4 separate regions of the Homo sapiens genome follow, and all the other regions are linked to region 1. The links are contacts of gene promoters, found by promoter capture Hi-C in blood cells and fetal thymus (Javierre and others, 2016). All regions are on one chromosome and are shown on one strand. Each heading gives the region's core, a stretch centred on a gene start or on the middle of the fragment in contact. The rest is flanking DNA. Distances are from core to core; before and after follow the strand shown.

Region 1 (2,864 bases), core at 216-2,715:
GCTTCCCCAAATGGTAGTACCAAAAGATTTGTGGGGTAGGGAGAAGAGACCACTTTAAGAAGCACTGCATTTACTCATCTTCCACAAGGCAACAGAGTTGGGCATCTGATTGTTCAACAAAACAAAGCTTTAATAGCATCCAGGAGGGCAGACAGGCAAACCACGCTGTAGACACTCTTCTATTTGTCAAAATCAGACCAGAGAAAACCTACTCCACACAGATATAATAGGTATTGATATTCATCTTTTCTTTTTCTGTTGCCGCAACATTTTTCTTCTTTTAATGATCATATCATGTAGTTTCTCAAGTCCTTCCTTTAGGCCATCTCCTATGATTGCACAGGTAGGCTGCAAATGCCAAGGAGTTGATGAGCTCAGTTCACCCATTGCTAACAATTTCTCAATTTCTGAAAGTGACAATGAGTTCCTCAAATCTTGTTTGTTAGCAACTATAAGTACAGGGACTCCCTGATTTTCTGATATCCTAGTTATTTTGTGAAGTTCAGTTTTGGCTTCTTCCATCCTTTCGACATCAACAGAGTCCACAACAAATACAATGCCATCTGTGCATCTGGTATATGACTTCCACAGTGGCCTTAATTTCTCCTGACCACCTACATCCCAGAAGTGAAAAGTGACTGTTTTAGAATTTCCCAAGGTTACCTTAATTTTCTCAGTGTTAAATCCTTTGGTAGGTACGGTATTTACAAATTCATTGAACTGCAGCCTGTATAAGACAGTTGTCTTTCCAGCACAGTCCAAACCCAGAATAACAATGTGGAAAGACTGAAATGAAGGCAGGTTGGACAGGATAGAAGTCTGGTCTGACAGCCCATTCCCCATTTCCAGGTGCAAATAAATGTCCCAAATTGAAATGCTTTTCTCTTCTTGGTTTACAACTTCTCTTGGTAGCTGATCCAGCTATAAGACTGCTGGGAGACGGAAGAAGGAATAAGTTATTCTCCCGAAATAATACATTAAAACAGGTTTGCTCTACTTTGCTAAAATAAACAACACGAAGAACTTACTATAACTTGCTGCGCTAAACAAACCAGACGAGATATGAAACGTACATGAAAACACACACAGTCCAAGACAAACGATGGAATAACAGTGATTGAAATTATCTGGTTTACTTAAATTGCAGTAATATGTACGTTTTTCTCCTGGGTCCCCAAACCTCAAAGACCTCATTCTGGAAAGAACCCAGTCACCAGTATCTGGTCTAAGTGGCCGTAACCACAAAGTGCCTATCTGGCAGAAAACTCATAGCAGATAGTCCTATCTTCGGAATCTAATTCCACATGCTTAACAGCATACCCAAGATCACTATTACCTCCTACCCCTTGCAAAATAACAACGTTCTCACCTCCCGATCTGGAGTCTGGGTCCAAATGAGAAAGCATTGGCAGGCGTTTCTACGCAGGGATAAGCACCCTTCCAGCTTAGCTCTCCAAGCAGCTCTGGCAGTTGCCGCACGAGAAACCTTGGACTCAGACTCCGACCACGCCCACTCCTCCCGGTCCACTCATGATCCCAAATCCCATTGGTCACCCGCATCAGGGAAGCCATGCAACTCCCGCCCCCGCTCCCTAATTGGTGAGGGTAACTGCCGCTCCCAGCGCGGCGGAGCTGAGCTCTCTCTCGGTCCACCGGCACCACCTGTTGCCCTTAAGTTAGAAAAGGCGGCGTTCCCAGAGGGAGCCGAGCAGCCGCTGCAGGTGAAGGGGAGCCTCGGGCGGTCAGGTCGCCGCCAGGCTGCCGGCTCCGTTCGGCCCGGCGCACCTGCAGCGCAGCCAGGGCGTCAAGCCAAGGCTCTCACATCCGGGGCCCGCAGTCACTGCCAACGCGTTAACCCTTTGTCCGCGGGCCCGAGGGTGCCGGCTGTTGCCGCGCGGGCCCCTGAGGCGCTAGAGATCCCACCTGGCGCGCCCGCCGGGATAAGCCCATCCTCCCCGAAGTGGGATCCCTTCACCCTGTCCCTCCGCACACGACCGGCTCTTCTCCCTCGGCAGGGCGTGGCCGCCCCGGCCGCCCACCCCGCCGCGGCTCACCTGACTAACCGTCCTTCCCTCTTCTTCATTCAGCGTCTCTCCCAGCCGCTGGGGAGGCGCGCTGATACCTGTTCCCTGGCACCAGGGAGGCGTGGGCGATGGCAGAGGACTGGGCGCCTGGCGGGCGCCGCGCGCCAGGCTGCCCTAACGGTGCTCGCCCGGCAGCTCCACGCGACAGTCCCCGCCCCCTGCCCGCGCGCCGCCCGGGCGCCGGCCTGTAGGGGGCGCGCAGGAGCCGCGTCTCCTAGCAACGCCAAAACAAGGTCGAGTTCGAATCGGCCTAGCGCTGGCTGCCCGCGAGGTCGGATGGGACTTCCGGCCTCACCCCTGAACGGTTGCTCCGGGTAGCTCTGTCTGCGGCGGCCCGCCAGCCTGGCACAGGCCCCGCCCGGCACCGCCTTCCCTCACGTCGTCTAGGGCGTCCGCGGGGCAGCAGCCACGTGATTCGCGGTTAGGGATTCCATAGTTCACGGGTTACGGCACACACGCGTTACGTATATATCGAGGTGACGTGGAAGTCCCCCAGTAGTTGACCTTAAACAGCCTGGGTTGACTGGCCTGGTAACTGCGCCTTCATTCGCTTTTTGTAGAGCAAATGAACGCGCTGTCTCACGTGTTTCTAGCAGCATCCCGGGGAACTGGCCACAGATAGAAATATTCCAGTTTGACACATAAGGAAATACACTCTGAAAGATGAAAGGGATGTTTCTTTTTTTCTTTTCTTTCAAATTGCTCACACAATTTTAATTGCAATAGATATAATTTCCAATATACCATTCAACTACACCATTTGTATGTGCTGGAGTGAGA
Region 2 (2,852 bases), core at 160-2,659, 1.3 Mb before region 1:
CCACGTGATTTGCTCAAGCCTACGGAATCAGAAACTCTATGAATCCACCCAGGGATGTCACTTTTTAACAAGGAGTGTCTTATATAATCTCAAATTTGAGAACCAACCATATAGCATACTTTTTAACAGGTATATAATGATAATTGAATTCCAAACTATAAGAGTATCATACTTTGTCAAATCCATTTCCTTATTGGTGGATACTGAAGTTGCTGCCAGATTTTTTCCTTGGTACCTAATATTTCAATAAATGTCTTCATGCACCATTGCTTTTATTTTTGTAGTATAGATTTCCCAAATGAGGATTATTGGATATAATTTTAGGGTCTAATAGATGTTCATTTTAAAGTCTAGTAGACATTGTAAGCTTACCTTCAAAAGGTTTCAAAAAGTCACATTCCAACCAGCAATATACATGAGTGCCCTTATCCTAGGATCCAACTCTAAGTATATTAGAAACTTCCTTCCAAATTGATGAGTTAAAACATTCTTTAAGGCAGGGCGCGGTGGCTCATGCCTGTAATCCTAGCACTTTGGGAGGCCAAGGTGGGCGGATCACAAGGTCAGGATTTGAGACCAGCCTGACCAATATGGTGAAACCCCATCTCTACTAAAAATACAAAAATCAGCTGGGCATGGTGGCGGGCACCTGTACTCCCAGCTACTTGGGAGGCTGAGGCAGGAGAATCACTTGAACCCAGGAGGTAGAGGTTGCAGTGAGCCGAGATCGCGCCACTGCACTTCAGCCTGGGTGACAGAGCAAGACTCTGTCTCAAAATAAATAAATAAATAAATAAATAAATAAATAAATAAATAATAAAAATAAAAAAATTCTTTATTTTTTAAGTGTACAGTATAATGTACTGATTTGGGGTGCAGTTAAAAGTTTTTTTTTCCACATTTATAAGTTGTTTGCAATTCCTCTACTTGAGGGAGTTTACAGATAGTCACCAGCTGAAAATGGCAGTATTGAGAGTGAGAGAGTATACAGCTACATAGTATCAGTTTCCTTGATACCCTTACCTTCTTCCCAGGCTCCACCCTCCTCTCAAATTTCTGCTACTCCTCACATACAGTGTTCCTGAAGCCACTGATTATCTTTCACCCTCCTGTGAGGACTCTATGTTCTCCTTTGGAATTATTTTCACTTGTTCATTTTCTTGGCCAATTTTGCTGTTTAATTTTATATCTTTTTCTTATCTATTTGATGTAACTGTGCAAACTAGATCTTTAACAATTTGCCTTACATACTGTTTTAATACAACAAATTTTAAAAGTTACTGTTTTACTTAATACTCTACTCAATTTTGAGCAAACTTCATTTGATTTTAATTATAGCAACCATTTAAAACAAGCAGCGCCATTTTAGCTTGTTGCCTTTCTGTAACTGCTTTTAGAAATTCACTTTCTTTAACAACGTGCAATTTCTTCATAATGCCATAGTAAGTTAACTGTAGAGAAGTCACTAATGAATATTATTTTACTTTATTAAATAACAGCAAGGGAAATATAAAAATTTAAATAGTTTTACATGCAACCTAAAAACTTTCCAAACTCAAAAATGGACTTTTTTTTGGAGGGGGGTAGCTTTCTCTCAAGAACTCTTATTTCAAAATCCAAATGGGATTTCAAAATACAAGCAAATAAATGTCAAAGCCTCTTGGCCTCTGCTCTGCCATTCTATGCCTGAAATCCTGCCAAAATGAAATTTTCCGTTCAAAAGGGCTGGCATTTACTAAACTGATGTTTTAAAGACATTCTCAAAAAGTAGTGGAAACTTTGTCCAGCTTTTTATGTTCCTGTCTTGTAGACAGAACAGCTGCCTTTGCAGATATTTTCCAAGATCTTACATTTTCTGAAAAACAAATTTTCAGCCCTTCCACTGTCTTCAGCAAGTGGGTCTATTGGTTTTTCCCAGTGCCAAGCAGAGAAGATAAACAACTGCCAAACTAGAAGCTAGTGTCTGAGTATCAAGGCATAGAAAGGACAGAAGAGATAGTGTTTCAGTAAGTATCAATGCAGAGAAAGGACAGAAGAGAAAGTGGGAGAAAGAAAAGAGGGTGGTTCAATCGTTCACAGTCAAGAGGGACACATTTATCTCAAAATTTTAGGCTGTTTCAACAAAACCGAGCTGTAGCGAGACTAGCTGCTTATTCACACGAGAACATCATTTTCAGTTACTATGAAGATCAAAGAGTTAAAAGATATGAGTTCGTTTAAAGAACTCAAAAGGGAAAATATGAAGCCACCGCAATACGTAGTAAAATCTGAGGCTTAACAGCGCAGCGCCTGAGAGTGCCAGTCCACTAAAGGGAGGGAGAAGGGGCGCAGAGCTTATGGGGGCCTGGGAAGGAGTGATAAGTCTTTGGAAATGGAAACTAAAGCTATCAGCCAGCGAAAACCATCAATATTCCTAAAAATATATAATACTAATAATACATAAAAGCTTTAAAAAACTAACAAGACACTGTGGGATACAAAAAAAGGTAGAAATGAAAATTACAGAATGTTAAGTGAAAAAACTGAAATCCATCTACAGTCGAACAGTTTGCACCTTTAAAAGCAATGACTTGAAGCAGCAAGCAAAAGTTCCCAGTCCTTAAGACTTTCTCCCCACTCTCAATTCTTTCTTTCCTCTAGTGCAAAAGCTGTCTAAGCAGTGCACGCCGGAATTATCCCCACGTGAGCCTTCCTTTAATTTCGGTCTTAATTTTTTTCTCTCTTGTTATTACTCCCAGACCCCAACCTCTTTTTCCTCATCTAGTATCTGTTTCAGGGACAGGACAAAGAGGAGGCAGCGAGCTGAAAAAAGTTTTGTGGTTTGGGATACTTGGGCCTTTGTTGTGTCATTT
Region 3 (2,700 bases), core at 199-2,698, 1.8 Mb before region 1:
AATTTTAATGTGTAATAGTATGAGAGGGGTCCTATCTCTTTTCTTCATTCTGTAAAGCTTATAACAAAGATGATGATTATTTAAGCAAGTGACAAACTGTCCCACTGATAGGATACATTAATTTGCCTGCAAAGCTGTTCCTTGTCCTCTATAAGAAGGTGATAATTAGGTTTTCAGGTTAGAAAAAAATCATGTCAATTATGTAGATGCTTGTTAAAATATATTTAATTCTTTATATAAACTTGAAACAATTACAAATGGTAAAATATTTTTGTGTAAACTTTTAAGTGAATACAGCTAATATATCAAATTAATATTAAGTTAGCACAACTCTTGGGAAGACAAACAATTGGAAAAATAATGTAAGAAGTGATTAACTTCTCAGGTAAAGCATTAGGTTTTGCTAGAACATCTACCTAATAAAACATCACTTATTCATAGCATGATTTAATTTCTTCATTTGACCACACTGAGTGCAATTTCATCTTTGAAAAGTCACATAGGATTGTTTTGTGCAGGTATATTAACATCCTCAAATTCTAATGATGTTGAAAGCTTGAGTTACCACTAGGTACTGCCAATGATTATGTTTTTTAGCTTATATTATACAGAATTAACTTCACTCTACATCTGAGTGCCTAAAAGAGTACTACAGGTTCAGCAGCTCTTATGTGAAATGCTTGGGATCCTAACTATTTCAGATTTCAGACTTTTTTATATTTTGGGATATTTCCATATACATAATGAGGTATTTTGGTGATATGACCCAAGTCTATCACAAAACACAAAACTCACTTATGTTTCATATATACCTTATACACATAACCTGAAAATAATTTCATGCAATATTCTTAATAATATTGTGCATGGAACAGAGTTTGAGTTAAGTACTTACGTGTTGAATTTTCCACATGTGGCATCCCGTTGGCCCTCAAAAATTTTAGATTTTGTAACATTTCGGATTTTGGATTTTTGGATTAGAAATGCTAAACCTGTATACGGTGTATACATTTTAAATAGTGAAGGCACAAATTCAACAGTGAAGGCACAAATTTATAAACACAAAACACTAGTGACTTTTTAAAGGAAGACGCTTTCATTGCCTTGGAGTTGATTTTAGCCCGTTGTCTTAAAGTTCTTAAACCCAATCTTTTCTAGCTTTAAATAACCAAAGGTAATTTCCTCTTCTTAAAAATTTCAGGGTATTAAAAACTTTCTTATATCTATTTCCTGAACCAAGTTGAAGAATGTTCAGTGCACATTCATTTAAAATACCTTTAAATGTTCCGACTCAATTACTTTTAATAGAGTGGAGAATGTTTGCTGTTTCTCAGAGTGCACAGCCAGAAAGGTTGGGTTTTAGTTAGAAAACATAGAAAATTACTTCCTGTGCAAAGGTACTCTCTAGAGAAATATAAGTAACCAGAAAACCCTACTGAAGACCAGTATATGTACTGGAAATGTCATGTAATTTCTTTGCACTTGTTGTGAACAGAATAATGGCATAAATAATGTTATGGTAAGACATTGACAAGATAAAATAAAAAGAGATTTTTGTTGATAATATGCAAAAATGCCACATCTGTTTTTATTCATTCTGCACTTATTTCTTTGAGGGAGCATTTCTACAGCTGTGAAAACCTAGGGAGTTTTTTACAAAACAATTTTAACAAATGTTCATGATTCCACACCAATGAAATGCATTTTAATTCCATTCAGAATGTTCCAAGCTCTCTAGCAGATAACCAGTAATAAAATTCATATTGAAGTTATGTCTGTGATTTTTAACTTCACTGCTCAAATGGTATAAGCAAGTTTTCCTGGTTGTCATAAAGAAATACAGAGAATTCTAAACAGAGTTTATAGAAAATTAAAAAGTATATTGATGGTTGGGAAGTTCAAACGTGATATTGGGTTCCATAGATAACCAGGAGACACTTCTGATGTCATATGAAAAAGACAAACCTTCGGTTCTATCTGTGTCTGAATTCTACTTCTGCCTCTTACCAGTTCTGAAGCCTAGGGTAAATTATTTAGAATTTAGTAGCATCCATTTCATCACCTATGAGAGTAGAATAGTGATTCTTAGTTCTCAGGATTGTTATACTATTAAATTAAATTGAATAATACATGTCATGTTAGCTAGAGTAATACCATTTCTTTTGTTTTTATTCCCATCAGAATTTACTATCAAAACTATCATGTGACTCAAGTGTATGCAGGATATTGATGCTATAATGCAGGGGTCCAGTAACTCTCTGGGATTTACAAAGATGTGTCAGAAATATTAGGTGATTCTTAGAAAGTGAAAAATGGAGTTGAAAGTTCATTGAAAGCTTTATTATTTAAAAGTTAACGTGCATCTGATAGCAATCATATATGATTTCTATATAATGCAAAGATCGTGTCACATAATCACAAGAGCACAAAATTTAGATTTAAAAGCCATATTATAATTCCTGAACGTGGAAGCTACCTTTGTAAATTGGAATGGTTTTCTTAAGACAATCTCACAGAGTTACTGCAACTATTGAACATGAATGTTTGTAAAAACATAGGCTACTAAATAATTGCCTTAAAATGTGTTTGCAGTCAAAATCCTAGTCAATAAAAGAACATAGGTCTGCTAGAGACATACAGGAAATACCATAGAATTAAGTGATTTTTTAAAATAGGGAAGTATTTTCAAATTAGAAGTGG
Region 4 (2,700 bases), core at 172-2,671, 1.2 Mb before region 1:
AAGATTAGAGAAAAATAAAAATAACTTACATCTGAACATGTTAAAAAAATTGAAAACTGGTAATTAATTTTAGTAATACGGAAGAAGTAAGAAACAATGGAACAGTGTATGTTTACCTTACAGACAATGCCTATGTGTACTTCTATTTCAAAATTAGGAAATGCCTAGAACAATATATACCAATATGTTAATGGTGATTATATTCTGGATGATATAATTATAGACCCTTTGTTTTAACTTAATTGATAATTTCTAATTTATCCTTCAGTATCCCCATATTACTTCTGAAATTTTAAGAGATAAAACATAATTTGAATATCCAGCCATTGAAAGCACAGCTCTAAAGCTATCTCCTTGTTTACTTTTGATTTATCTCCCTGGAAAAATTCCTGTTTTTTCTGTCTGTCTCAGTGTTGCATTTTGGCTATACTTAATGTACAGCATTTTGCACGTTAGTACTTCTGTTACTCATAATGGAAGACATCATTCCCCTTGGTTGGTTATCATCCCTTGTTCTAAACTCAGTAGCATTTAACATAGTCCAGCAAATGAAGTAGTAGCCCTAAAAATGTTTATTCAAAAGCAATACAGAAGGAAGCAGTGAGGAAAGGCAGAGTCCTTGAGAGATTGCATAAGCTTGATTGCATGTTACACATTTTAATTCATTTATTACATAATTTTTAAGTATAGCCAGTAGCAACCCGTCAAAGGAAGTCCAGTACTTAAAGCAAATGTATCTTCCTCCACAGCCCCAAACAAAACAAAGCACATTATAAAACACTCAGAGGTATGCAGGCCATTTATTTTATTTTATTTTTTCTCCAAATACTTTGAACAAAGAAAAAAATAAAGGAAAACTAGGATTTACTATCTCAGCTTTGTTCCTGATAGTGCTATTTTTATGTTTATGGTCATTTCATCATTTCACCTTTAAGATCTTAATTTTCTTTGTATGAAGGACTAAAGTAAATAAATGTATGCCAGACTCCTCTGTTTCTGGCACAGTGCTCTGTGCTGGAGACTTCCATCCCAACCTTGCAATGGGCTTTCTGAGGCGCCATTCCTGTCTCCATTTCACAGCAAAGGCCACTGAGAGGTAGTCTAAGAAACAGGTCCAAATTCATAAAAACTACTAAATGTTCATTCTTTCAAACCTAGGTACATTCAGATTATTTGAATTCTCTAAAGTGGTTCCTCTTACTTAAATTCAGGGCAAAAGAAACAAAAAATGTTCTAAATTTGAATTCAGAGCAGCAGCATTCATTGACAATTGTTACTTTTCCCTCAAAGATATAACAATACTTTATAACCCAGGAACACACTGTTGCCCCACATCAAAAATCAACTAGCAAATGCCTTGTTGATATACAGGAACATGGAGGTGTTGTGTCACCTTCAGCTTTCTAAAATCTCATACCTTTACACACACCCATACAAAGTGACTATCAAAGTTAATAGAAAGAACTGTATTCATCCACCCATCCCCCCACCCCGGGTTTTGAGAGCATCTCAGCATTGTCTATTAACAAGAGGCGTATTCATCTCACTCAGTTGTTTATAATTTTCTAGGGAAGCATTACTCTTCAGAATTTAAGTTTGGGGTATGTCATACCCTATAAATTATGCTACTTCTTTATTCCAGGCAGTTGTCACATTTCTTTTTCTCATTTCCTCCCTGTGCATTGTGTATTTTAAATTCCTTTCACTTTTTTACACCTCTTACTTCAATTTGACACTTTACACACATCCTTAACTCTGTCTAATGCATCTTGCCTTCATTTTTAAAAGTGATGTACCCAGGATACTGTCCTTTTGATCCATCTTTCATTTAAATGAGGCTGTGTATCCTTTCTTTCTTTCTTTCTTTCTTTCTTTCTTTCTTTCTTTCTTTCTTTCCTTTCTTTCTTTTTCTTTTTCTTTCTCTCTCCTTTCTTTCTTTCTCTCTCTCTTTTCTTTCTTTCTTTATTTCTTTCCTTTCTTTCTTCTTTCAACACACACTGCCAAAAAAGAAAAAAAGTAAAGAATCCATTTATTCTGTGAATCAGTGAATTACTAGTCTAGTCTTATTGGGAATAAAGCACATTTTTCTTTTAAATTTTGAATTTAGTTTTTCTACCATTTCAGATATGTAATATTAAGAGGGACAGTGTACCTTAAAAGTACAGATTTGTAGATACTACCTTTTAAAATGCAGAAAAAAAGCTTTCAATATGAAATGCCTGCATTAAATAATTGACTTTTTTTCAAAACAACGATGTAAGTTTACCTCTATATTAAGACAAGCAAATTCCTGTGCTTCCTAGCTATATCTGGAATTAATTAATTATTATTCAAGGTCAACATTTTGCATCTCCCTTGACTGAACTGTAGTTTATTCCACAAAGTAAAGACTTTTTTTTTTTTATGTGTATCTGCTATTAGTTGTTTGCTTTTTTGGGCCAGAGTTACCCATCCTTTCCTGTATATTAAACCACGTTTTTGGCTTTTTCCTTCCTGTCCTTCCCCATCTGGCGATGGTGAGGATGGGTTTTTCTCTTCCATGTTATCATCAGGTGGCTGGAGAGAGATATGTCTACAAGTTTGTGTGTGATCCAGAAGCCCTTTTCTCCATGGCCTTTCCAGATAATCAGCGTCCACTGCTGAAGACAGACATGGAACGTCACATCAACGAGGAGGACACAGTGCCTCTTTCTCACTTTG

Evidence for each region. The method cuts DNA at HindIII sites, captures the fragments that hold promoters and counts their contacts. A CHiCAGO score of 5 or more calls a contact.
Region 2: a contact is called between a fragment that was not itself captured here and the fragment with the promoter of ARL4A in region 1, in 1 of 17 cell types (fetal thymus). The highest score is 7.4, in fetal thymus.
Region 3: a contact is called between a fragment that was not itself captured here and the fragment with the promoter of ARL4A in region 1, in 4 of 17 cell types (total CD4 T cells, M2 macrophages, naive CD8 T cells and 1 more). The highest score is 7.7, in total CD4 T cells.
Region 4: a contact is called between a fragment that was not itself captured here and the fragment with the promoter of ARL4A in region 1, in 1 of 17 cell types (monocytes). The highest score is 5.4, in monocytes.

Annotation. Positions count from the first base shown.
Region 1 is chr7:12,686,234-12,689,097 of GRCh38, reverse strand. ARL4A (ARF like GTPase 4A) reads right to left here and starts at 1,465. Exons shown (of 2, transcript NM_005738.5): 1 at 1,370-1,465; 2 at 1-932. The coding sequence starts at 843. The coding sequence ends at 241. It also overlaps the pseudogene LOC100505995. RefSeq lists silencers at 1,901-1,950, 2,151-2,430 and an enhancer at 1,420-1,956. The HindIII fragment of the contact is 3,768 bases long and covers 130-2,864 here.
Region 2 is chr7:13,991,603-13,994,454 of GRCh38, reverse strand. No RefSeq gene overlaps it. Among named protein-coding and RNA genes, the nearest start is that of ETV1, 3.4 kb to the right of the region's middle. RefSeq lists an enhancer at 2,768-2,852. The HindIII fragment of the contact is 2,079 bases long and covers 370-2,448 here.
Region 3 is chr7:14,454,275-14,456,974 of GRCh38, reverse strand. The region is part of intron 21 of DGKB (diacylglycerol kinase beta); the gene reads left to right. Among named protein-coding and RNA genes, the nearest start is that of DGKB, 450 kb to the left of the region's middle. The HindIII fragment of the contact is 1,781 bases long and covers 558-2,338 here.
Region 4 is chr7:13,895,940-13,898,639 of GRCh38, reverse strand. It overlaps ETV1 (ETS variant transcription factor 1), which reads left to right. Exons shown (of 14, transcript NM_004956.5): 14 at 2,553-2,700. Among named protein-coding and RNA genes, the nearest start is that of ETV1, 92 kb to the left of the region's middle. The HindIII fragment of the contact is 1,566 bases long and covers 639-2,204 here.